7 separate regions of the Homo sapiens genome follow, and regions 1, 2, 3, 4, 5 and 6 are each linked to region 7. Evidence: promoter capture Hi-C in 16 types of primary human blood cells and fetal thymus (Javierre and others, 2016). All regions are on one chromosome and are shown on one strand. The core of a region is centred on a gene start or on the middle of the fragment in contact, and the rest is flanking DNA. Distances in the headings are between cores, read along the strand shown. Region 1 has its middle 30 kb from the start of ITSN2. Region 2 overlaps LOC105374329 (a long non-coding RNA gene). Region 3 overlaps ITSN2 (intersectin 2). Region 4 overlaps ITSN2 (intersectin 2). Region 5 has its middle 10 kb from the start of ITSN2. Region 6 overlaps LOC105374329 (a long non-coding RNA gene). Region 7 holds the start of PTRHD1 (peptidyl-tRNA hydrolase domain containing 1).

What was found. The method cuts DNA at HindIII sites, captures the fragments that hold promoters and counts their contacts. A CHiCAGO score of 5 or more calls a contact.
Region 1: a contact is called between a fragment that was not itself captured here and the fragment with the promoter of PTRHD1 in region 7, in 6 of 17 cell types (megakaryocytes, M0 macrophages, endothelial precursors and 3 more). The highest score is 7.7, in megakaryocytes.
Region 2: a fragment that was not itself captured here is called in contact with the fragment with the promoter of PTRHD1 in region 7 in 5 of 17 cell types (endothelial precursors, megakaryocytes, neutrophils and 2 more); the score reaches 10.0 in endothelial precursors.
Region 3: a contact is called between a fragment that was not itself captured here and the fragment with the promoter of PTRHD1 in region 7, in 1 of 17 cell types (monocytes). The highest score is 5.2, in monocytes.
Region 4: a contact is called between a fragment that was not itself captured here and the fragment with the promoter of PTRHD1 in region 7, in 2 of 17 cell types (monocytes and neutrophils). The highest score is 5.7, in monocytes.
Region 5: a contact is called between a fragment that was not itself captured here and the fragment with the promoter of PTRHD1 in region 7, in 3 of 17 cell types (neutrophils, fetal thymus and monocytes). The highest score is 9.2, in neutrophils.
Region 6: a contact is called between a fragment that was not itself captured here and the fragment with the promoter of PTRHD1 in region 7, in 13 of 17 cell types (megakaryocytes, endothelial precursors, M0 macrophages and 10 more). The highest score is 13.7, in megakaryocytes.

The regions. Positions count from the first base shown.
Region 1 is chr2:24,389,310-24,392,651 of GRCh38, forward strand. No RefSeq gene overlaps it. Among named protein-coding and RNA genes, the nearest start is that of ITSN2, 30 kb to the left of the region's middle. The HindIII fragment of the contact is 740 bases long and covers 1,185-1,924 here.
Region 2 is chr2:24,429,918-24,432,852 of GRCh38, forward strand. All of the region lies in intron 2 of LOC105374329 (a long non-coding RNA gene), which reads left to right. Among named protein-coding and RNA genes, the nearest start is that of NCOA1, 60 kb to the right of the region's middle. The HindIII fragment of the contact is 3,708 bases long and covers 1-2,935 here.
Region 3 is chr2:24,329,968-24,333,139 of GRCh38, forward strand. The region is part of intron 1 of ITSN2 (intersectin 2); the gene reads right to left. It also overlaps the pseudogene HMGN2P20. Among named protein-coding and RNA genes, the nearest start is that of ITSN2, 29 kb to the right of the region's middle. The HindIII fragment of the contact is 2,065 bases long and covers 611-2,675 here.
Region 4 is chr2:24,352,731-24,356,015 of GRCh38, forward strand. The region is part of intron 1 of ITSN2 (intersectin 2); the gene reads right to left. Among named protein-coding and RNA genes, the nearest start is that of ITSN2, 6.2 kb to the right of the region's middle. The HindIII fragment of the contact is 8,462 bases long and covers 1-3,285 here.
Region 5 is chr2:24,369,396-24,372,390 of GRCh38, forward strand. No RefSeq gene overlaps it. Among named protein-coding and RNA genes, the nearest start is that of ITSN2, 10 kb to the left of the region's middle. The HindIII fragment of the contact is 3,412 bases long and covers 1-2,995 here.
Region 6 is chr2:24,411,477-24,414,489 of GRCh38, forward strand. The region is part of intron 2 of LOC105374329 (a long non-coding RNA gene); the gene reads left to right. Among named protein-coding and RNA genes, the nearest start is that of ITSN2, 52 kb to the left of the region's middle. The HindIII fragment of the contact is 3,558 bases long and covers 1-3,013 here.
Region 7 is chr2:24,791,345-24,794,694 of GRCh38, forward strand. It overlaps PTRHD1 (peptidyl-tRNA hydrolase domain containing 1), which reads right to left and starts at 2,047. Exons shown (of 2, transcript NM_001013663.2): 1 at 1,782-2,047. The coding sequence starts at 2,033. It overlaps CENPO (centromere protein O), which reads left to right and starts at 2,081. Exons shown (of 8, transcript NM_001322101.2): 1 at 2,081-2,157; 2 at 2,508-2,621. The coding sequence starts at 2,576. It overlaps LOC105369164 (a long non-coding RNA gene), which reads right to left and starts at 1,731. Exons shown (of 3, transcript XR_939843.4): 1 at 1,423-1,731; 2 at 1,040-1,240; 3 at 1-435. RefSeq lists an enhancer at 1,708-2,137. The HindIII fragment of the contact is 6,911 bases long and covers 1-3,350 here.

The DNA of each region.
Region 1 (3,342 bases), core at 305-2,804, 400 kb before region 7:
AGGATTCCAATTTCTCCACATCCTCGACAATGCTTGCTATTTTCTGGAGTTTATTTATTTATATAGTTTTAAAAATGAGATGGAGTTTAGCCATGTTGTTCAGGCTGGTCTCAAACTCCTGAGCTCAAGGGATCTGCCTGCTGCAGCCTCCCAAAATGCTAGGATTACTGGCTTGAGCCACTATGTCCAATCCTGGAGTTTGTTTTGTTTAGAGTAGCCATCCTAATAGTGTGAAGTGGTATCTCACTGTAGTTTTGATTTGCAATCCCCTAATGATTAGTGATGTTCCCCTCCTTTTCTTTTCATTTTGCCTTCTTTTTTTTTTTTTTTTTGAGACGGAGTCTTGCTGTGTCGCTCAGGCTGGACTGCAGTGGCGCTATCTTGGCTCACTGAAACCTCTGTCTCCCGGGTTCAAGTGATTCTCCTGCCTCAGCCTCCCGAGTAGCTGGGATTACAGGCACCTGCCACCATGCCCAGCTAATTTTTATATTTTTAGTATAGACGGGGTTTCACCATGTTGGCCAGGCTGGTCTCAAACTCCTGACCTCAGGTGATCCACCTGCCTCGGCCTCCTAAAGTGCTGGGTTACAGGCGTGAGCTACCACACCCGGCTGCCTTCATTCTTAAAGGATGTTTTGCTGGCTATAGAATTCTGGATTGATTTACTTTTTTCTGATCCTATACTTGAAGATATTGTTTCACTGTCTTCTGATATCTATTATTTATAAGAAGAAACAGCATTCATTTGTATCATCATTCCCTGCATATAGTGAGTTGTTTTCTCTGGCTTTCAAGATTTTCTCTTTATCTTTGGTTTTCAGCATTTTGACTATACTGTGTGCAGGTATGGTTTTCTTCATATTTTTTTTTTTGGTGGGGAGAGGGTTACTTAGCTTCTTAAATCTATAAATTTATCTTTCAACCTATTTAGAAAATTTCAACCTCTTTTTCTTCAAAATAATTTTTCTGTCCCATATTCTCTTCCTTACTTCTGAGACTCCAGTTACACATATTTTAGCTCTTTTGCTATTTCCCCTCAGTTTCCTGAGAGTCTATTCATTCCCGCCCTCTCCCATCCATTTTCTGTCTGTTACTTAGATTGAGTAATTTTTATTGATTTCTCATCAAGTTTTCTGACTTTTTTCTCCTGTCACCTTCAATCTGCTTCTAAGCCTGTCCAGTAAAGCTTTAAATTTCAGATATTAAACTTTTCAATTGTATAATTTACATTTGGTTACTATAGTTTTTATTTCTCTGCTTGTATTTTCTTTCATTAATTATGAGTAATATTTTCCTTTATATATGTACTCTGTTTGGCACAATTTTAATAGCTGCTTTAAAGTCTTTGTTATAACTCAACATTTGATGCATGTCAGCATCAGACTCTTGAGTACTGGGGTCACATTTCATTTTTATGTCTAGTAATTTCAGATTGTACCTTGGATATTGTAAAAGATACCTTGTAGAAGTTTTGGATTCTGTCACATTTCTCCAAAAGGGTTTGTTTGTTTGTTGTTTTAAGTAGGCAATACATATATCCCTTTCTTCTTTTGTTTAAATGTCAATTTTAGTTTTGCCAGTTGGGTGCAGTGGCTCATGCCTGTAATCCCAGCACTTTGGTAGGTGGAGGCAGGAAAATCACTTGGGCCCAGGAGTTTGAGACCAGCCTGGGCAATGTAGACAGACATCATCTCTACAAAAAATAAGAAATTCGCTGGATATGGTGGCATGCACCTGTGATCCCAGCTACTTGGGAGGCTGAGGGAGGAGGACCCCTTGAGCCTAGGAGGTCAAAGTTGCAGTGAGCCATGATCATGCCATTGCCCTCCAGCCTGGGTGAGACCCTGTCTCTAAAAAATAATAATAATAATTTTTGTCAAAGTGAGATATACACATAATTTTAAAAAGTCTAACACAATGACAAAGCTTGTAATGACAATAGTAGAACACTATACCACCATTTCCACCCTGAAACCTGCCCCTCAGGAAGAAAAACTTTTAATTCTTTCAGCTGTTTCTTCTATTTACATCTACTTTTCTAAAAATATTTCTAAAAATATTCATATATATAGATATACACACATAATTTTCATATGTACATATATATGTATATTCATATATACACACACACTTTTTTTTTTGAGACAGGATCACTCTCTGTTGCACAGGCTGGAGGGCAGTGGCGTGATCATGGTTCACTGCGGCCTTGAACTCCTGGGTTCAAGTGATCTTCCCACCTCAACCTCCTGAGTAGCTGGGACTGCAATTGTGCACCACTATGCCTAGCTAATTTTTAATTTTTCTTTTGTAAAGACAGGGTCTCACTATGTTGAACAGGCTGGTTTCTAACTCCTGGGCTCAGGTGATCCTCCTGCCTCGGCCTTCCAAAGTGTTGGGATTACAGGCATGAACCACCATGCTTGACCTCTCATATTTTTATTTATATGTTATCTATTGACGTTCTATTATGGAGTCACAAAATTTAGCACACTTAAAACCTCCTTCCCTCTCTTCATACTCCCAATATATTTGTAGTACATTTTTGTTTATATCAATATTTATACTGTTTATATTATCTCACTATATAACACTTGCTCAATGTTAAGCCAAGTAATATAATACTGATAAGATAAATTTTTATTCATATTAGAATTAATAATTGCCCTGTGGGTTGTTTTAGCAGTTTTCTATGTAATAATTACTAGTTCAACCTTAAACTTAGCAATATAATGGTGATACCCCTCTGAATGTTGATAATTCCTATTGCCTTCAGCTATGCCTGGTATCCCTATGTTTAGATGCTGTAAGTTTCTTAACACACAGTCAGTCTTCTGCTGGAGTGGGAAAGAAGGTCCATCTGTCTTTGAAAAAGGAGTTCTGGCCGGGGCCGGTGGTTCGTGCCTGTAATCCCAGCACTTTGGGAGGCTGCGGCAGGTGGATCACTTGAGGTCAGGAGTTCGAGACCAGCCTGGCCAACATGGCAAAACCCTGTCCCTGCCAAAAATATAAAAAATTAGCCAGGTGTTGTGGTGCACACCTGTAGTCCCAGCTACACAGGAGGCTGAGGCAGGAGAATCGCTTGAACCTGGGAGGCAGAGGTTGCAGTGAGCTGAGATCACACCACTGTACTCTAGCCTGGGTAGGCAACAAAGTAAGACTCTGTCTCAAAAAAAAAAAAAAAAAAAAAAAAGAAAAGAAAAGAAAAATGGAGTTCTAGGGGTCTGAGTGAGCCATGTAAGGTTTTTCAATGGATCCTTCTCTTTTCATCTGTAACATGAATTTCTGCCTTTAGAGATACCTGGTGCCTCCAAATTCTGAGCATGTCCAAGATCCTCTGGCAAT
Region 2 (2,935 bases), core at 368-2,867, 360 kb before region 7:
AAACTTTAGAAGCTGTCATGAGTCATCCACCGTTCTTCCCTTCCACATCTAAGCAGTCATTAAGTCCTGCCAGGTTTACCTCAGGAATAGCCTCAGCCCACAGTGCCTCCTTGTCTAATATCTAGACAATAGATGCTAGTCTCTCCCGTTTGCAATCAATCCTTCCCCAACTCCCCAAAGTTATTCCCCTGTAACCAGTATATTAAACAAGATGGATTTGGGATGGCTCAAACAGAAAGCACTTGTCCTATCTTATAACTATGCTGTGGTTTGAATGTGTCCCCCGAAATTCATATGTTGGAAATTTAATCCCCAATGCAATGGTGTTGAGAGGTGGGATCTTTAAGCCGTGATTAGGTCATGAGGGCTCTGTTTTCACTGATGGTTTAAGGTCATTACTGAGGGAGTGGGTTTGTTACTGCCAGAGTTGGTTCCTGATAAAGGGATGATTTCAGCCCTCTCCCCTCCCCTCATTGCCTCCTTCTCCCCTCTCCTCTCTCTCTCCTTCCCTCTCTTCCTCTCTTTCATGTGCATGCATGGGTCCATGCTGTCTTGCCCTTCCACCTTTTGCCATGGGATGATGCGGCAAGAAGGTCCCTGGTAGGCTGGATGTGTTGGTTCACACCTGTAATCCCAGCACTTTGGGAGGATGAGGTGGGAGGATCTCTTAGCCCAGGAGTTTGAGAGCAGCTTGGGCAACAATAGTGAGACCTCATCTCTACAAAAAATAAAAAAATTAGCTGAGTGTGGTGGCATGTGCTTGTAGTCCGAGCTACTGTGGAGGCTGAGGTGGAAGAATTGCTTGAGCCCCGGAGGTCCAGGCCACAGTGAGCCATTATTGCACCACTGCACTCCAGCCTGGGCAACAGAGCAAGACCCAGTCTCAAAAAAAAAAAAAAAAAAAAGCAAGAGACTGGGTGTGATGGCTCATGCCTGTAATCCCAGCACTTTGGGAGGCTGAGTTGGGTGGATCACAAGGTCAGGAGTTCAAGATCAGCCTGACCAATATGGTGAAACCCCATCTCTACTAAAAAATACAAAAATTAGCCGGGTGTGGTAGCAGGGGCCTGTAAGTCCAGCTACTCGACTGAGCCTGGAGAATTGCAGATTGCGCCACTGCACTCCAGCCTGGGTGGCAGAGTGAGACTCTGTCTCAAAAAAAGAAAGAAAGAAGAAGGTTATCTGATCAATGTGGGCCCCTTGGACTTAGTAGCCTCCAGAACTGTAAGAAATAAATCTCTGCTCTTTAGTAATTATTGTTTCAGATGCTCTGTTAGAGTAGCACAAAATGGATTGAGAAAGAATGTCCCTACTCTCTCAAATCTTTCTTCCCTACCCATCCATGGTTGTCTCTTTTTTCTTTTGAGACAGGGTCTCGCTCTGTCATGCAGGCTGGAGTGCAGTGGTGCAATCATGACTCACTGTAGCTTTGACCTCCTAGGCTCTGCTGAGCCTCTCACCTCAACCTCCCAAGTAGCTGGGACCACAGGCATGCACCACCACACCCAGCTAATTTTTGTATTTTTTTGTAAAGACAGGGTTTCCTCATTTTACTCAGGCTGGTCTCCAACTCCACGGCCCAAGTGATCTGCCCACCTCGGCCTCCCAAAGTGCTGGGATTACAGGCGTGAGACATGGCACCCAGCCCCTACCCATGGTTTTCCGTTTATCATCAGGTATTGAAAAGTTCAGTCCAATCAAATATCAAAATTTTAATTTCTTATCCAAATTAAAGTTCTCCCTGTCACTAGTGTGAGCAAACTTAGGCTTGCAAGCATATAGGGAAGAAGGGGGTTCCAGTCATTGTCTTCTCTTTGTTTCTCCTCCTCTTGCATTAGCTGGGCCCAGGAGAGAGGGGATTAAATAAACAGAGGCCTTCAGTGGCTCTTGAGTTGTAATCACAGCACCCTTGGTAAGTAGCAGATCTAACGGGTATTTCTCTAGTGAGGTGCTTTTGAGAATTTGTTTAGAGACCCTTCCTCCTTTGGCCCTCCTACTAAGCATTCCCTTGACTTGGACAGTGCCCATTTTAGCTAGGCTCTTCCATTCTCCCCTTTATGACTTGAATTCCAGTTGACCATCCCGCATAGTGTTTCTTATGTTGGAATCATCCAGAAGGTCCTCTTAGATAGGGTCTGTAAGATGACTCAAGTCCAGCTTTCTTCCTCATGTCCCCCTGGCACAAACTTCCCCACTGTTTCTGCAAGTGTGGCTTGTTCCTTCTGGGTCCCCTGGCTTTGCTCTACTGCCACCCACCAGCCTTCCACTCAAGAACTTTTTCCACTGATATCAGAACGCAGCCTCTCTGTCCCTTCTCTTAGGAAGCCTGGAGATGGGTGAAGGTCTAACCATGGCAGAACTGGCACAAGGCCACTCTCTTTGCAAGTCCTGCCTGGACAGTCTTGTACCTCACTTAGGATGTGGAGGAGGGACTGAAACCTATTGTTCTCAGTTTTGAAGCCTCAGCCAAAACTCTGAGAAAGGAAAAGCCCTATTTTAACATGCTGTTACATTCCTTTAAAAACATCACATATTGTTTTGTTTTGTTTTAATTAACTGTTCCAAGTTTTTTCTTTTCTTTTCTTTTTCTTTCTTTCTTTCTTTTTTTTTTTTTTTTGAGATGGAGTTTCGCTCTTGTTGCCCAGGCTGCAATGCAATGGCGCAATATTAGCTCACTACAACCTCCACCTTCCGGGTTCAAGTAATTCTCCTGCCTCAGCCTCCTGAGTAGGTGGGATTACAGGCACGCGCCAACAGGACGTGCGTCTAGCTAATTGTTGTATTTTTAGTAGAGACAGGGTTTCGCCACGTTGGCCAGGCTGGTCTCGAACTCCTGACCTCAGGTGATCCACCCACCTTGGCTTCCCAAAGTGCTAGGATTATAGGCGTGAGCCACTGTGCCTGGCCCTAACTGTTCCAAGTTTACAATGTTTGA
Region 3 (3,172 bases), core at 393-2,892, 460 kb before region 7:
CCAAAATAAGCTACATGGCTAAAAACAAACTATCTACTTAACAGATATGCAGTAGCAAGGGCCCTTATTCATTAGTTTTCTGTGGCTGAGACCATTTTAAAACATGGGAGAAAACCCACTATTGCAAATAATGCATTTTCTAACTCTGCATAATAGCATGTGAATTATAAAGATGGCTCTAACAACAGAAAAACCAACGAGGAATGGGATCCCATGGACACAAGGCCTTAATCAGTTGGGATCTAGGTCTAAAACTTACAAATCATCTGTCTAGAACCATTTGTTCGTCATCACGTATTCTGTGAATACAAAAGAATGCCAAATAGAGAGCAACGTGAAGAAGAAGACGCGAGAACGAACCCCGGACTGACCAAAGCCTGCATGCCACTGCATCCTGTGCCAAGTGCTTACCTCCTGCCACCGTTGCCACCACCATGCCCAAGAGAAAGGGTGAAGGGGATGCTAAAGGAGATAAAGCCAAGGTGAAGAACGAACCACAGAGAAGACCCATGAGGTTGTCTGCTAAACCTGCTCCTCCAACGCCAGAGCCCAAGCCTGAAAAGGCCCCTGCAAAGAAGGGAGAGAAGGTACCCAAAGGGAAAAAGGGAAAAGCTTATGCTGGCAAGGAGGGGAATAACCTTGCAGAAAATGGAGATGCTAAAACAGACGGGGCACAGAAAGCTGAAAGTGCTGGAGATGCCAAGTGAAGTGTGTGTATTTTTTATAACTGTGTACTTCTGGTGACAGTAGTTTGAAATACTATTTTTTATCAAGTTTTATAAAAAATGCAGAATTTCATTTTACTTTTTTTTTTTTTTAGATGAATTCTCGCTCTATCGCCCAGGCTGGAGTGCAGTGGCGTGATCTTGGCTCACTGCAACCTCCACCTCGTGGGTTCACGCGATTCTCCTGCCTCAGCCTCCTGAGTAGCTGGGATTACAGGCAGGCGCCACCACACCTGGCTAATTTTTGTATTTTTAGCAGAGATGGCGTTTCACCATGTTGGTCAGGCTTGTCTCGAACTCCTGACCTCAGGTGATCCACCTGCCTCAGCCTCCCAAAGTGCTGAGATTATAGGCATGAGCCACTGCACCCGGCCACTTTTTTTTTTTTTTTTTTTTAAGGCAGAGTTTCGCTCTTGTTGCTCAAGCTGGAATGCAATGGCGCGATCTTGGCTGACTGCAACCTCCGCCTCCCAGGTTCAAGCAATTCTCCTGCCTCAGCTTCCCAAGTAGCTGGGATTACAGTTGCGCATCATCACGCCCGGCTAATTTTTTGTATTTTTAGTAGAAATGGGGTTTCACTATGTTAGCCAGGCTGGTCTTGAACTCCTGACCTCAGGTGATCCACCTGCCTCAGCCTCCCAAAGTGCTGGGATTACAGGCATGAGCCACTGTGCCCAGCCTACTTTTTTTTTTTTTAAGCTATGTTGTTAGCACACAGAACACTTCATTGTTGTTTTTGGGGGAAGGGCCATATGTCACTAATAGAATGTCTCCGAAGCTGGACTAATGTGGAGGAAACACCTTTCCCTTCTAGTTTTGAGAGAGTTCCTCTTGGCTCCCAGGAGGAGGGATTCCCTGACTTTAACACACATGGCCACCTTGGCACAAAAGCCTTGTGGTATGGAAAACAAATTTGTTTTTATGTCCTCTTCTCCCTTTCCGTCCTTCAGCAGAGACTTAACTCCCTTAAACCCAGACATCTGTTGAGACCTGACCCCCCAATCATTAGTTACCAGTGTGTCAGGCAATCTGGACTTTCCAGTGATGCCACTGAGACGGCACCTGTCAAAAGAGCAGTGGTTCTTCAGATAAATTCTGCCATTTTCATTTCACTTCCTGAAAGTCAGGGTCGGCTGGGAAAAGTTGTTAAACAATATGCTAAATGTGAAATGTCAACCCTCACTCTAAACTTTCCCTGTTCACAGCATCAGATGAAGACTTCATTGGGTTTTAGAGTGGCTTTCAAGAAGGGAGTTTGAAAGTTGTTGTGGCCAGGCGCAGTGGTTCATGCCTGTAATCCCAGCACTTTGGGAGGCCAAGGCAGGCAGATCACCTGAAGTCAGGAGTTCAAGACCAGCCTGACCAACATGGTGAAACCCCATCTCTACTAAAAATACAAAATTAGCCAGGCGTGGGGCACATGCCTGTAATCCCAGCTACTTGGGTGGCTGCGGCAGGAGAATCGCTTGAACCCAGGAGGTGGAGGTTGCAGTGAGCCAAGATCAGGCCATTGCACTCCAGCATGGGCAACAAGGGCAAAACTCCGTCTCAAAAAAAAAGGAAAATTGTTGTATACTCAATGATTGTCTGCCCATGTCCTGCCTGAAATACCATGATTGTTTACGGAAAGTATCTTTAATAAAGCTGGATACAGTTTGGCTTGGGAAAAAAAAAAAGAATGCCAAATAGTAGATGCTCAGTAATCACAGGCATAATTCTGAAATAAAACCTGAGAATGAACTAAATATTAATAATATTACTGGCAATAAGGGCAAATCCCTTGGGTAAAGCTGAAGGTACTAGTATTACAGAATCTTTATCATCTGGTATGTGGAATTTAGCCACCCATGCACATAGGTACCATATTATATGTAACATTTATATTGTATGTAACATCTGATTAACTGTGGTAACATCTAAATATGGGAGTATATTTTGTTGGAACCAATAAGCTTTTAAAACATATCATTTCATATCTATTACATTTCTATTCTCTCTGCCCCACTGTGGAATAATTACCTAATGCTTAACAATTCTACTAGTCTATTTGCAGAGTAGTACTTAACAATTATAATTGAAATTTTGAAAATGCAACAGATACCAAAAACTTTGTTTTACATTTTTCAAAAAGCAATTAATAAATTAACATTTACTGTTTACCATTAATTCAATACACTTCTGTTGATCACAGTAGATGTACTGTGTCATGCTGAGTATTCATTGAGAATCCAATGTTTCAGGTTCTGCAGAAGGAGCTTCAGACACTGACAAGCTTGTAGACTTATCTACCAGGTGCCAGATACTGCTAGGCACCTTTGATAATATGGATACTCCTCTCACAATATCCCCACAAGGCAGATGATACTGTACTCATTTCACAGAAGAAACTGAAGAGGTTAAATTACTTGCCCAAATTCAGTATGTCATGAAGCCAGAATGCAATCCCA
Region 4 (3,285 bases), core at 473-2,972, 440 kb before region 7:
CAAATTCTATTGAAGATTTAAATCAAACCAATTTTTGAAGAATAGTCAACAACTCTGAACAAGACAATTCACCCACACAAAGGGGGATAAAAATACCTAAGAATAGCTTGTGACTCAGCCTGCATTCCTATAAGGGGTCCCAGGGGGACTGATAATATTTAGCCTATTGTCATCTGTCTCATATCAGAACTAAATATTACAGCAAAACTATTTACTTGACATGAATAAAAAGTACAGAGGGAAAGAAATTCAGACAGATGCTTCACTTTCAAGTAAAACATCACCTCTTTGAAACAAAGACAACTTTTAAGTTTTGAAGCCATACAAGAAAACAAAAGAAAGAATAAGCAGATTCTATATCATCTATATAACAAATATTTAAAACTTCCTTGAAAACAAACTTAAAAGGTAAATGGGGAAAAATCACAACACATGATAAGCAGTTGATATTTTTAATGTACATAGGGCTATTAAAATAGATAACGAAAACACTAAGACCTCAAATAAATAATCTACGAAAGAAGAAACAGAAGAAATAAAAGTAGTTAATAAATGTTAACATCACTAATAATTAAGAAAACGAGGCTACCCACAGTGGCTCATGCCTGTAATCCCAGCACTTTGGGAGGCTGAGTGGGGGCGAATCGTCTGAACTCAGGAGTTTGAGGCCAGCCTGGGAAACATGGTGTAAACCTGCCTCAATAAAAACTACAAAAAAATTAGTTGGTCCCAGCGGGAGGCTGAGGTGGGAGGATGGCTTGAGCCCAGGAGAAGGAGGTTGCAGTGAGCTGAGATGGCAGTGAGCTGAGATCCCGCCACTGCACTCCAGCCTGGGCAACAGAGCCAGACCCTGTCTCAAAGACAAAACAAAACAAAACACTGGCCAATACCCAGGGCTAGCAAAGGTGAATTAAATAGGGTGCTTGCAGGTACAGCCCATGGGAATACGTATTGGTATCACTCTTCAGAAGGCACTGTGAAAACATATATCAAGAGTCCCACCAACATTCATATCCTATAAAGCAATAATTTCATTTCTGGGAATCTGTCATAAGGAAATAACAGTAAATGTGGGAAATGCTTTAATTACAAAGATATGGCAGCATTAGTAATCATTGAAAAAAACTAAAAATGAATGTCCAAAAATAAAGGAATATACTAAGCCAAGTATCATGCTTCCACTTAAAATCAAATTCATATGATATGTGAATTAAATCTCAATAAAGCTATTTTGTGATCAAGTTCAGTTAGACCACATAATAACATGGAAACTGCTTATGTTCTTACAATTTAAAACTTACATTTTGATATAAATGTGCATATTTATTATGAAAATTAAAACAGCAGCCATCAATCATCAATATTTACTAAGTGCCAAGCCCTACACTACAAGTTGTTACATGTTATCATGGTTACCTCATTATCACTGATACCATCACCAGGCCCATCCTGGAAGGGTCTCAGGCCCAAGGCCATCACCAACTGTGGGGCTGGCCCAAGATAAACCACACTTTAAAGAAGGCTTCACTAAACATTTTCATAGGCCCCTTGAGAATGTTAAAAACAAATTTGGAAATTGAGCCCAGTGGGATTGTGGGTCTGTACTACCCTACTTTTCAGCCTTCTTATATAGATTATTCCGATGGTAAGATTAAAAATTAAGGGCAAAAGGCTAATTTCCTTTCCAGTCACGGTGTAAAACAAAGACCAAAATAAGAACTATGTTAGGTTAGTTTGAAATTTCTCACTGAACCAAGTTAAAACAACAGGTAACATTAGGCACTTACACTAAGCAGAAGTCACTGTGCTAAGCACTTTATATTACATATAACAACACTAGGAACTAGCTAATATTTCCCCATTTCACACATAAGGAAACAGAAGCTGAAGAGAATTAAAGTAACTTGCCCAAGATTATACAGTTATTTGGTGTCAGAGCTGGAAGCAGGTCTAACTTCAGAGGCTGTACTCTTATCCTCTATGGTTATGATGAAAATAAATGAAATTTTTATTAAAATCACATATACTTTATCTAAAATGAATACGCATTCGTGAAGAAAATGATCTTAAAAATATGAAACAGTTAAATAAAACAAATGTTTACCGTCTGGTAATAGTCCCCTAATCCACTAAATGTCTGCCATAATCCACTGCTGAATAGCTCCACAAGTAAATAAATCATTTAATGTCCTGATGTATCTATGAAATTATATTTTAAGTGAACCTTTTGAAACAATACTATACATTCTGCAAATGAAATATGCTGCCCTCTTGGAGCTGTGAAAATACATATTTCTTGATCTATTAACTGTCCTAATTCTGTTCAGTTTCCTCCCTTCCTCTCCCACTTCCTCTTTGCTCTCATATCCTTTAAGACCAGTTCAGTTCCTCCTCCTCAAGAATACCTATATTCACACTTTACCCAAGAGAACTCTAACATTAGTTTCTGCGCTCCACAGCTGTAGGATGTTACAAAATCCAAAAAATGAACTCAAGTAAAAAATACAGTATTTCTGATGTACCTTCAACTTTAGATCTATCCACTTACAGAATTAATTATAAACATTCTTATTTTTCTACTTCACACTTGGAATCCTGTCTTTAAAATCAGCACACAGTAACCAAAACAGCATGGCACTGGTACCAAAACAGACATATAAGCCAATGGAGCAGAACAGAGACCTCAGAAATAACACCACACATCTACAACCATCTGATCTTCAACAAACAAGACAAAAACAAGCAATGGGGAAAGGATCTCCTATTCTGTAAATGGTGCTGGGAAAATTGGCTAGCCATATGCAGAAAACTGAAACTGGACCACTTCCTTACACCTTATACAAAAATTAACTTGAGATGAATTAAAGACTTAAATATAAAATCCAAAACCATAAAACCCTAGAAGAAAACCTAGGCAATACCATTCAGGACATAGGCATGGGCAAAGACTTCATGACAAAAATGCCAAAAGCAATTGCAACAAAAGCCAAAATTGACAAATAGGATCTAATTAAACTAAAGAGCTTCTGCACAGCAAAAGAAACTATCATCAGGCTGGGTGCAGTGGCTCATGCCTATAATCCCAGCACTATAGGAGGCCGAGGTGGGAGGATCACCTGAGGTCAGGAATTCCAGACCAGCCTGGCCTGCATGGTGAAACCCTGTCTCTATTTTTAAAAAATTACAAAAAGGCCAGGCATAGTGGCTCACATCTGTAATCCCAGCACTTTGGGAGGCCGAGGCGGGTGGATCACCTGAGGTCAGGAATTTGAGACCAGCCTGGAC
Region 5 (2,995 bases), core at 124-2,623, 420 kb before region 7:
TCTGTCTCACCTCTGCACTTGTGCTTCATCTTCTCAATAGAGAGAGGGTGGGATGTATAGTGGAGCACAGATAATTTTTTTTTTTTTTTTGAGACACCATCTCATTCTGTCACCCAGCCTCAAGTACAGTCGTGAGATCATGGCTCACAGCAGTCTCAACCTCCCACACTCAAGTGATCCTCCCCCAACTTAGCCTCCCAAGTAGCTGGGACTGCAGGTGAGTGCCACCATGCCTGGCTAATTTTTTTTTTCTACATGTTGCCCAGGCTGGTCTAAAACTCCTGTACTCTAGCAACCCTCCTGCCAGCCCCCCAAAGTGCTGGGATTACAGGCATGAGCCATCACGCCTGGCAGATCACTCTTTTTTTTTTGAGATGGAGTCTCGCTCTGTCGCCCGGGCTGGAGTGCAGTGGTGCGATCTCGGCTCACTGCAACCTCCACCTCCCGGGTTCAAGCAATTCTTCTGCCTCAGCCTCCCGAGTAACTGGGACTACAGGTACATGCCACCACACCCAGCTAAGATGGATTGATATATTTTACTTCCTTTAGATGCTTAGGAAGAATCTAGGTGATAGCAAAGGGCTTTCTTTTACTATTGGATTTTGTCATTTGGAACAACAGGAGAGCGTAACTGAAATTGTATTACAACTCTAGCATTGTCTTCTTAAGTTCAATGTTCTTTCCTGGAACAGCAGCAATGTCATTGTTAGAAGATTAAAAATATAAAATTCTACCTTCAAATCAAAAAATTCTGGTTAGAATTATAGTAACTTCTTAGGGATTTACAGAAAGAACTGGCCGGGTGCACTAGCTCGTGCCTGTAATCCCAGCACTTTGGGAGACCGAGGCGGGTGGATTACCTGAGGTTGGGAGTTCAAGATCAGCCTGGCCAATATGGTGAAACTCCATTTCTACGAAAAATACAAAAATTAGCCAGGCGTGGTGGTGGCTGCCTGTAATCCCAGCTACTTGGGAGGCTGAGGCAGGAGAATCACTTGAACCTGGGAGGCGGAGGTTGCAGTGAGCCGAGATCGCGGCACTGCACTCCAGCCTGGGCAACAGAGGGAGACTCTGTCTCAAAAAAAAAAAAAAGAAAAAGAAAGGACCTTGAACTTTGTGCCTTTCAAGTTAGCCTTGCTTTTAATTTGATGTAGTGTGTAGTCTAAATGGATTCAGTTTTGTCATTTATAGGGTAAGCCTTGGGGCAGGGACCAGGTTTTGACATGTACTTATCAGCTTATACTACACTCTCAATATTTAGAAAATAATAATTAATGGTTGGGTATTGAGTGTTTGGCACAAAATCCTGACTCTAAGTATAATTAACTTTAAGAGCTATTTTGGTGTCTGATGAACGCTTTTCATAGCTTCTTAAATGAGTCAGGAATGTATCCCATGGCTGAGACATGTTGAAATTTAGAATACACAAATATAAATTGCCTAATGAACATGAACATCATGTGATTCTAATTTAAAAACTGTAAAAGGCTGGGCACAGTGGCTCACACCTGTAATCCTAGCACTTTGGGAGGCCAAGGCAGGTGGATCACTTGAGCACAGGAATTCAAGACCAGCCTGGACAACATGGTGAAATCCCATCGCTACAAAAAAAAAAAAAAATTAGCTGGACGTGATGGCATGTGCCTGTAGTCCCAGCCACCTGGAAGGATGAGGTAGGAGGATGGTTTGAGCTCAGGAGGCGGAGGTTGCAGTGAGCAGTGATCACACCACTGCAACTCCAGCCTGACGGACAGAGCCAGACCCTGTCTCAAAAACAAACAAGTTGTAAAAATACTGGAATTGGTATCATCAAGATTGGATTCAGTGTTTAGAAGCCCTAAACGCTGAAACACCCATGTATGAAATTAAATAAAAAGAAAAACATGAAATAACTTAGCCAGGTGTAGTGATGTGTGTCTGTAGTCCCAGCTACTTGGGAGGCTGAGGCAGGAGGATGGCTTGAGCCCAGAAATTCAAGGTTGCAATGGGTCAGGATCATGTCACTGAACTCCAGCCTGGGCAACAGAGCAAGACGTTGTCTCAAAACCCAAAAACAAAAACAAAAAAATTGCTTGATAACTATTTCAACACTTTTTTTTTTTTTTTTTTGAGATAGAGTCTCACTCTGTCACCAGGCTGGAATGCAGTGGCGCAGTCTTGGCTCACTGCAACCTCTCCCTCCCAGGTTCGAGTGATTCTCCTGCCTCAGCCTCCTGAGTAGCTAGGACTACAGGCATGTGCCACCACGCCCAGCTAATTTTTGTATTTTTAGTAGAGACAGGGTTTCACCATGTTGGCCAGGATGGCCTCGATCTCTTGACCTTGTGATCCGCCCGCCTCGGGCTCCCAAAGTGCTGGGATTACAGATGTGAGCCACTGCGCCCAGTTCAACACATTGTTTTTTGTTTTTGTTTTTTTTTGAGACAGAGTCTTGCTCTGTCGCCCAGGCTGAAGTGCAGTGGCACATGTCAGCTCACTGCAAGCTCCACCTCTCGGGTTCAAGCCATTCTCCTGCCTCAGCCTCCCAAGTAGCTGGGACTACAGGCACCTGCCACCACACCCAGCTAATTTTTTGTAATTTTAGTAGAGACGGGGTTTCACCGTGTTAGCCAGGATGGTCTCAATCTCCTGACCTCGTGATCCATCAGCCTTGGCCTCCCAAAGTGTTGGGATTACGGGCGTGAGCCACCGCGCCCGGCCCTCAACACATTTTTTATAAAAATGTGGAATTATTTCTAAATAACTATGTGTGTGTGTGTGTGTATGCAAATGTGCAGACAGGTATGCTCTAGGCCTGCCCTTGCTTGGCCAGGCCCAGGAGAATGTGCTTACTTTGCTTTTTTGGGTGCCCCTTTTGCAGCACCCTTTTTGGGTGTTCATTAGAACCCAGGATGTAGAGTAGACTGTGTAGACTTGGGTTCCTATCATGGAAACTCTAGGTGGGTAAGGCGGCAACCGAGAAAGCTACAGCCAAGTGTCAACTACTTTGTGACCA
Region 6 (3,013 bases), core at 363-2,862, 380 kb before region 7:
TCTTCAGTGGGAGCCAGTCTGAGAACAGAGGTGAGAGAGAGAGAGGGAGAGAGAGAGAGAAGCAGACCCTCGTGATACATTTCAACCTTTAAGCCAAGATAGCAGCAAGCCCTATTTCCAGACTTTTCAGTTACATAATCAAGTAAATTTGCTGCTTTGTTTAAGCATCTTTCTCTTTCCCTCTCACCTTCTGTCATGGGATGACTCAGCAAGAAGGCCCTTGCAAGATGCTGACACCTTGATATTGGACTTCCTAGCCTTCAGAACTGTGAAGAATAAATTTCTTTTCTTTATAAGTTGCCTAGTCGCTGGTATTCCCTTATAGCAGCACAAAATGGACTAAGACGGGCACGATAGATTGACCTGGCTGTGTGACTGCAATCTCTGGGCTTGGCTGAGGGCCATTTGTGCCTGGAATTGGAGGACACTGTGAAGACATTGTCCATTTCAGAAAGGCTTTGTTCCTAAGTCAGTGCCTCTGGCCTTCTCCACAGTGACCTTTGCCACACTCCACCCCAGGGGTCCACATTCTTGTCAAAGGGTGAGAAATCTTTTGTGACTGGCCATGATGATGCCATTGTAACACAGGTGGCCAATCAGTTTATACATCTGTTTATCCCCTTAAACAGGTCATTTATTTTCATGCACAATTGAAACTGTAAGTCAAACTCTGCTTCTTTATGGTGGTAAATAGTACGTTGATTATGCTAAAGAAAGATTATTATCGTAAGTGAACACCTGTGTCTTGTATCACAGTGGTACTACATCAGGGAAACCTGGTGGTCTGTTTTATTTATTTATTTACTTATTCAAGAGACAGGATCTCATTCTGTCACACAGGCTGGAGTGCAGTAGCACAATTGTAGCTCATTGCTCTAACTCCTATGCTCAAACAATCCTCCTGCCTCAATCTCTCAAGTAGCTGGGACTGCAGGTGTGTGCCATACAGTCAGCTAATTTTTTTGTTTTTGTTTTTGAGACAGAGTCTCTCGCTCTGTCGCCCAGGCTGGAGTGCAGTGGCACAATCTTGGCTCACTGCAACCTCCGCCTCCTGGGTTCAAGTGATTCTCCTGTCTCAGCCTCCCGAGTTGCTGGGATTACAGGCATACACCACCACGTCCAGCTAATTTTTTTGTATTTTTAGTAGAGATGAGTTTTCATCATGTTGGTTAGGCTGGTCTCGAACTCCTGACCTCAAATGATCGCCCGCCTCAGCCTCCCACAGTGTTGGGATTATAGGCATGAGCCACTGGGCCTGGCCTAATTTTTTTTTTTTTTTTTAGATTTTGTAGAGGCAGGGTCTTCCTATGTTGCCCAGGCTGGTCTTGAACTCTTGGCCTCAAGTAATCCTCCCACTTTGGTCTCCAAAGTACCAGGATTACAGATGGGAGCCACCATGCCTGGCCATGTTTTATTTTTAATAGGAAATTTGTTCGCATGGCTGAAAGCTCAAAGGGTACAAATAAATGTTTGTGAAAACTTTCCTTCCCGCTCCTGTTTCCCAGGTGCCCAATTCTCTTCCCCAGAGCTAATCCATTTCATGCTTTTGATGTAGCCTCCCAGAGTGACTTTATGCATATTTAAGCAAACAATGTATTATATTCCCCCTTTGCCTCAACACTGGTGTATGGACCTTCTGAGCCTTGCTCTTTTCACTGAAGATATCTTGGATGTACTTGCATGTAGTACATAAAGAGCTTCTTCATTCTTTTTGGTAGCGTCTGAGTATCCCACAATTTCATAATAGCATGATTTCATTAATGTCTGTTGATGGACATTTCAGTTGCTTTGTATCTTTGGCTCTTGAAAACAATGCTACAATAAACAATCTTGTACATATGTCATTCTGCACTTGGGTAAATATATTTTTGCAGTAAATGTCTAGACGTAAAGTTTTTGGGCCAAGGGTATATGTGTTTGTATATCCTCCCCAACACACACTTTTTTAGTTTAGTTTTTTTTTTATTTTTTATTTAAGATGGAGTCTTGCTTTGTTGCCGAGGCTGGAATGCAATGGCCCGATCTCGGCTCACTGCAACCATCTACCGGGCTCAAGCGATTCTCCTCCCTCAGACTCCCAAGTAGCTGGGATTACAGGCGTGCGCCATCATGCCCTGCTAATTTTGTATTTTTAGTAGAGACAGGGTTTCACCATGTTGGCCAGGCTGGTCTTGAACTCCTGACTTCAGGTGATCTACCTGCCTTGGCCTCCCAAAGTGCTGAAATTATGCTAGGCTTAGGTTTTATTATACTCGAAAAAATAATGCCTACCATGGGAAGAAAATCCAAATAGAATAAAAGTGTATGTATATAGGCCAGGCGCGGTGGCTCACGCCTGTAATCTCAGCACTTTGGGAGGCCGAGGTGGGCGGATCACCTGAGGTCGGGATTTCAAGACCAGCCTGACCAACATGGAGAAACCTTGTCTCTACTAAAAGTACAAAATTAGCCGAGGTGGTGGTGCATGCCTGTAATCCCAGCTACTTGGGAGGCTGAGGCAGGAGAATCGCTTGAACCTGGGAGGCGGAGATTGCAGTGAGCCAAGGTCGCGCCATTGCACTCCAGCCTGGGCAGCAAGAGCGAAACTGCCTCAAAAAAAAAAAAAAGTGTGTGTGTGTGTGTGTGTGTGTATATATATATATATAATATACATATACATATATATACACATATACATATATATACACACACACACACACACAGATATATATATATATATATACACACACATACAGTAAAAAGTAAGTCCTCTTACTCTTTGGTTTCCAGGCTCCCTCCCTGGAGGTAACCACTGTTTGTGTGTGTACTTCTAGATATATGCATATACAAACATATATATATGAATAAGTATATGTCATCATTTGCCTTTGCTTAAAAGGTATATACTACACATACTATTCTGCACCTTGAGTTTTTAATTAATATGTCTGGAGTTTATTGCATACCAGTAAGTATAGATCAACTTCATCCTCTCGTTATCTTTTTTTTTTTGAGACAGAGTCTCGTTCTGTTG
Region 7 (3,350 bases), core at 797-3,296:
AGGGAGAGTACAATATTCTCTAACATCCTTCTGAAATTGTTTCTGGGTCATCCTTACTGCCAATTCACCCATGCTGAATCCCATTCCAGGAAGTATTAAAACGATCACTCAGAAAATTATTATTTTTGTGTTATTTTGCATAAAGTTTATCTCTTACCTATGAAGGCAGAAGCCACTAAGCTACTCAGAGGCTTGTTTTAATAAATTAGAGAATGCCAGTATTGCGACTCTTAACCTGCTGAGTCCTTCTGGCAGAGCTCTGCTGGAGGACTCATCAGCTTCTTCAGCCTCGGGCAGCAGCAGAGCATAGTGAGATACAGTGAGGCTCTGGAATCAGACTACTGGACTCCAAACTCTTGCTGACTGTGTGATCGTGGATAAGTTAGGTGACTTCGCTGGCCTCTTCGTCCCTTTATAAAACAGGAATAATGCTTCCTAATGGGGATCAATGAAATCAGGCTTGGACCTGTGCCTGGCACACACTAAGCACTCAATAAATGTAGTTAATCCTGGTATTTTCTTATATTTTATTGGCCCTTCTGACTACAGCGGCACCTCAATGTAATCAGTAGCGACTCCTAAGTCCCTTTCTTGAGTCATGACTAACAACTAAGAATCATGAGACCCTCTTTTAAACTCAGGGGAGTCACTTAATCCCTGTAGGCTTCAGAGAGTTTCACCTGCGACAAGAGGAGTCTAACCTGATTTCTTGAGACCTCTTACTAGGAAGAAAATCTAAGTGAAAAGCCAGCAGCTTCTGTTCTGCCTACACAGATTCTCAAGGCATTTTTCCTACAGGTTACCGCTTGATGTTTCACTATCCAGCAGCAATTTTTCTCTTGAAAGATAATCTATCTTTGTCAGTTACCCATGAAGGGATTACTCCACCCCTCCACCTGAGTTCTGGCTTAAAGCCGTTTTTCCTTATTATAAAAAGCCGTTTATTATTAAAGCCGTTTTTCCTTATTATAAAATATGTGCTTAAGGTAGAAAATTTTAAAAATACAGATTAAGCATTAGGAAATAACCAAAATCTCACCATGCACTACTTAATATGTAGATGTATTTCTTTAGTTTTTCCTTTCAAAGTCTGGATCATTCTGTATATATAGTTCAGTTAGCTTCGCATCATGAGCACTCTTCCCGACCACTAAATATGCTTCAAAACCATAAGGGCTCCCATGAATATCCTTGTGCAAAGCTCTTTGGGTGCATCTGATTATTTTCTTAGGCTACATCTCTAGCAGCAGGATAGAGAGTCAAAGGGTAAGGGTGAGATTTGTTTGGTCATCTGCAAACAGAACCTGACTGCTATTTTAAAAGGTGTACCGATTTACACACCTGGTGCCTGGTCTAGCTGAAGCTAGGTTCAATTTATACTAACGTTTTTAGTATTTATTTTCAAATAATTTGGCGTCCTACCCAGGTAAATACTCAGTTTGACTTCACTTTGCACTGTCCCTTCGGGCTCGGTTTTGCAGGAGGACAGCACTTTGGGGCATGGCTTTAAAAAGTCGGCCAGTGCACAGGCGGAACAGCGGGGACACAGGAGCCACCACTTTACCGCGAGCCCAGCAGGGGGCGGAGGACTGCTGTCCACTCTTCACACAGTCAGGCCCTTCCCAAGGGCGCACCTCCAGGGAAACAGCTCCAGTCTAAATGTTAACGATCACCCCAACTCCCGCCGCACCCACTCCCCGCAGCCAGGCCTTCGGACCGAAGACCACACCCACTTCCGCCCTCGATGTCTCAGCACCTCCCCCTCCGCCCGAGTGCCTCACCTCGAGGACCACTTTGCGCATGCGCCCCAGCTCTTGGAGGTAAGCGGCTGTGTGCGGGTGGTCGCGGTGAGTGTGCAAGGCCGCGGTGGCCGCGTGACAAGCCTGCGCTACCAGTGCGCCCGCCGGCCAGGAGAACGGAGCTTGTGATAGATCCTTTCGTAACACCAAGTATTGTACCAGGACCTGCGGCTCCGCCCCAGAGGCCGCCATCTTCCTGACCACCCGAAAGGCCGGACCTACTCCCCGGTGCATCTTGGGATCAGGGCGGGGCCCTGAGCGCCGCCATGCTTTTGTACGGCAGGATCGCAAAGCACGCCGGGACCGGTTGGTTTGGTTTTGAAGACGTGGATGGCGGGAATTCTCGCTTCTGGCCTGGGTGAGCTAGAAGGGAGAAGGTAGGGGAAAGACCCATTGTCGGACCGGACCGTGGCCAGGGTGGCGGGCTGAACGGCCTTCTTAAAACTCCTTCCGTGGCCGGGAAGCCCGCTGGACCAGAGTAGCCGTGGCCTCGGGAGCGCGCCGGGGCCGCGGGATGGGCGCGGGGGTGGGCATGGACTCTGCTGGCTCGGACGATGGGAGAGGGCGGGCGGCTCAGGAAAGGGGATCCTAGCCGTGACATTTGTGTCATCCGCGGCCCAGGGGTTGTGCCTGAGTGGTGTGTGCCCTGCCGTCTGGGTTTGAATGGGACTAGATGTGATGTGACTGTTGCCATTTTTCTTTTATTAGCAAGGACATTGGAGTCCCTATCACCGGTTGCCTAGACAACTTCATGGGAAGGCCCTTGGGAATCTGAGATGGAGCAGGCGAACCCTTTACGTCCAGATGGCGAGTCCAAAGGAGGTATTCAGAGGGTCGCCGCCTCCTTCCTGCTGCTGCCCAAAGATGACCCGCAGGCTGAGAGAGCCCTTTCCTCCTGGAACTGACGTGGGACCTGGCCTGTTTGGGAGCAGAATAGTGAAAGGAACTAACATTGAAGACAAAGGGACAGGCAGCCAAGATTATTCGAGGAGGAAAAATGGCTTCGTTTCTAGGCTCCCACCCCTTTTGAAACGGATAAGTTGCATCCATCATATGCTCAGTGTTTATATTCTGAACTGCGGTTCTAGCCAGGGAGGTCCCTTTCCTCTCCCCGGATTTTTTGGGCCATGTATGCATTACTCTTGAGGGAGGGCCAGTGTAGGGCAGTGACTTTAGTGTTGGCTAGAACTGGTTTTGAGTGTTGGCTCTGCCATGATAAATATTGTGACCTTAGGCAAGTCACTTTATTCTCTGCCTCTGTTTCTTCATCTGGAAAATGGAGGTGAAAATAGCACTGTAGTTGTGGTTGTGGAAAAAGTATTTCTTTTGTGGTGGAAAAGTATTGAACTCAGACTTTTCAAGTGAAGCATTTAGCACATGTCTAATATATAGGAAATATTCAATGAAAGGCTTAATTCTTTACATACTTTGTGTCTTAAAATGTAGAAGGTGTTTAAAGAATGCTTGTTAGAGTTGCTTAGAATTACGAAACTATTACTTTTACTTAGTCCTTAGTCAATCCTTTGGAAACTGAGATTTGCGTTTGAATTT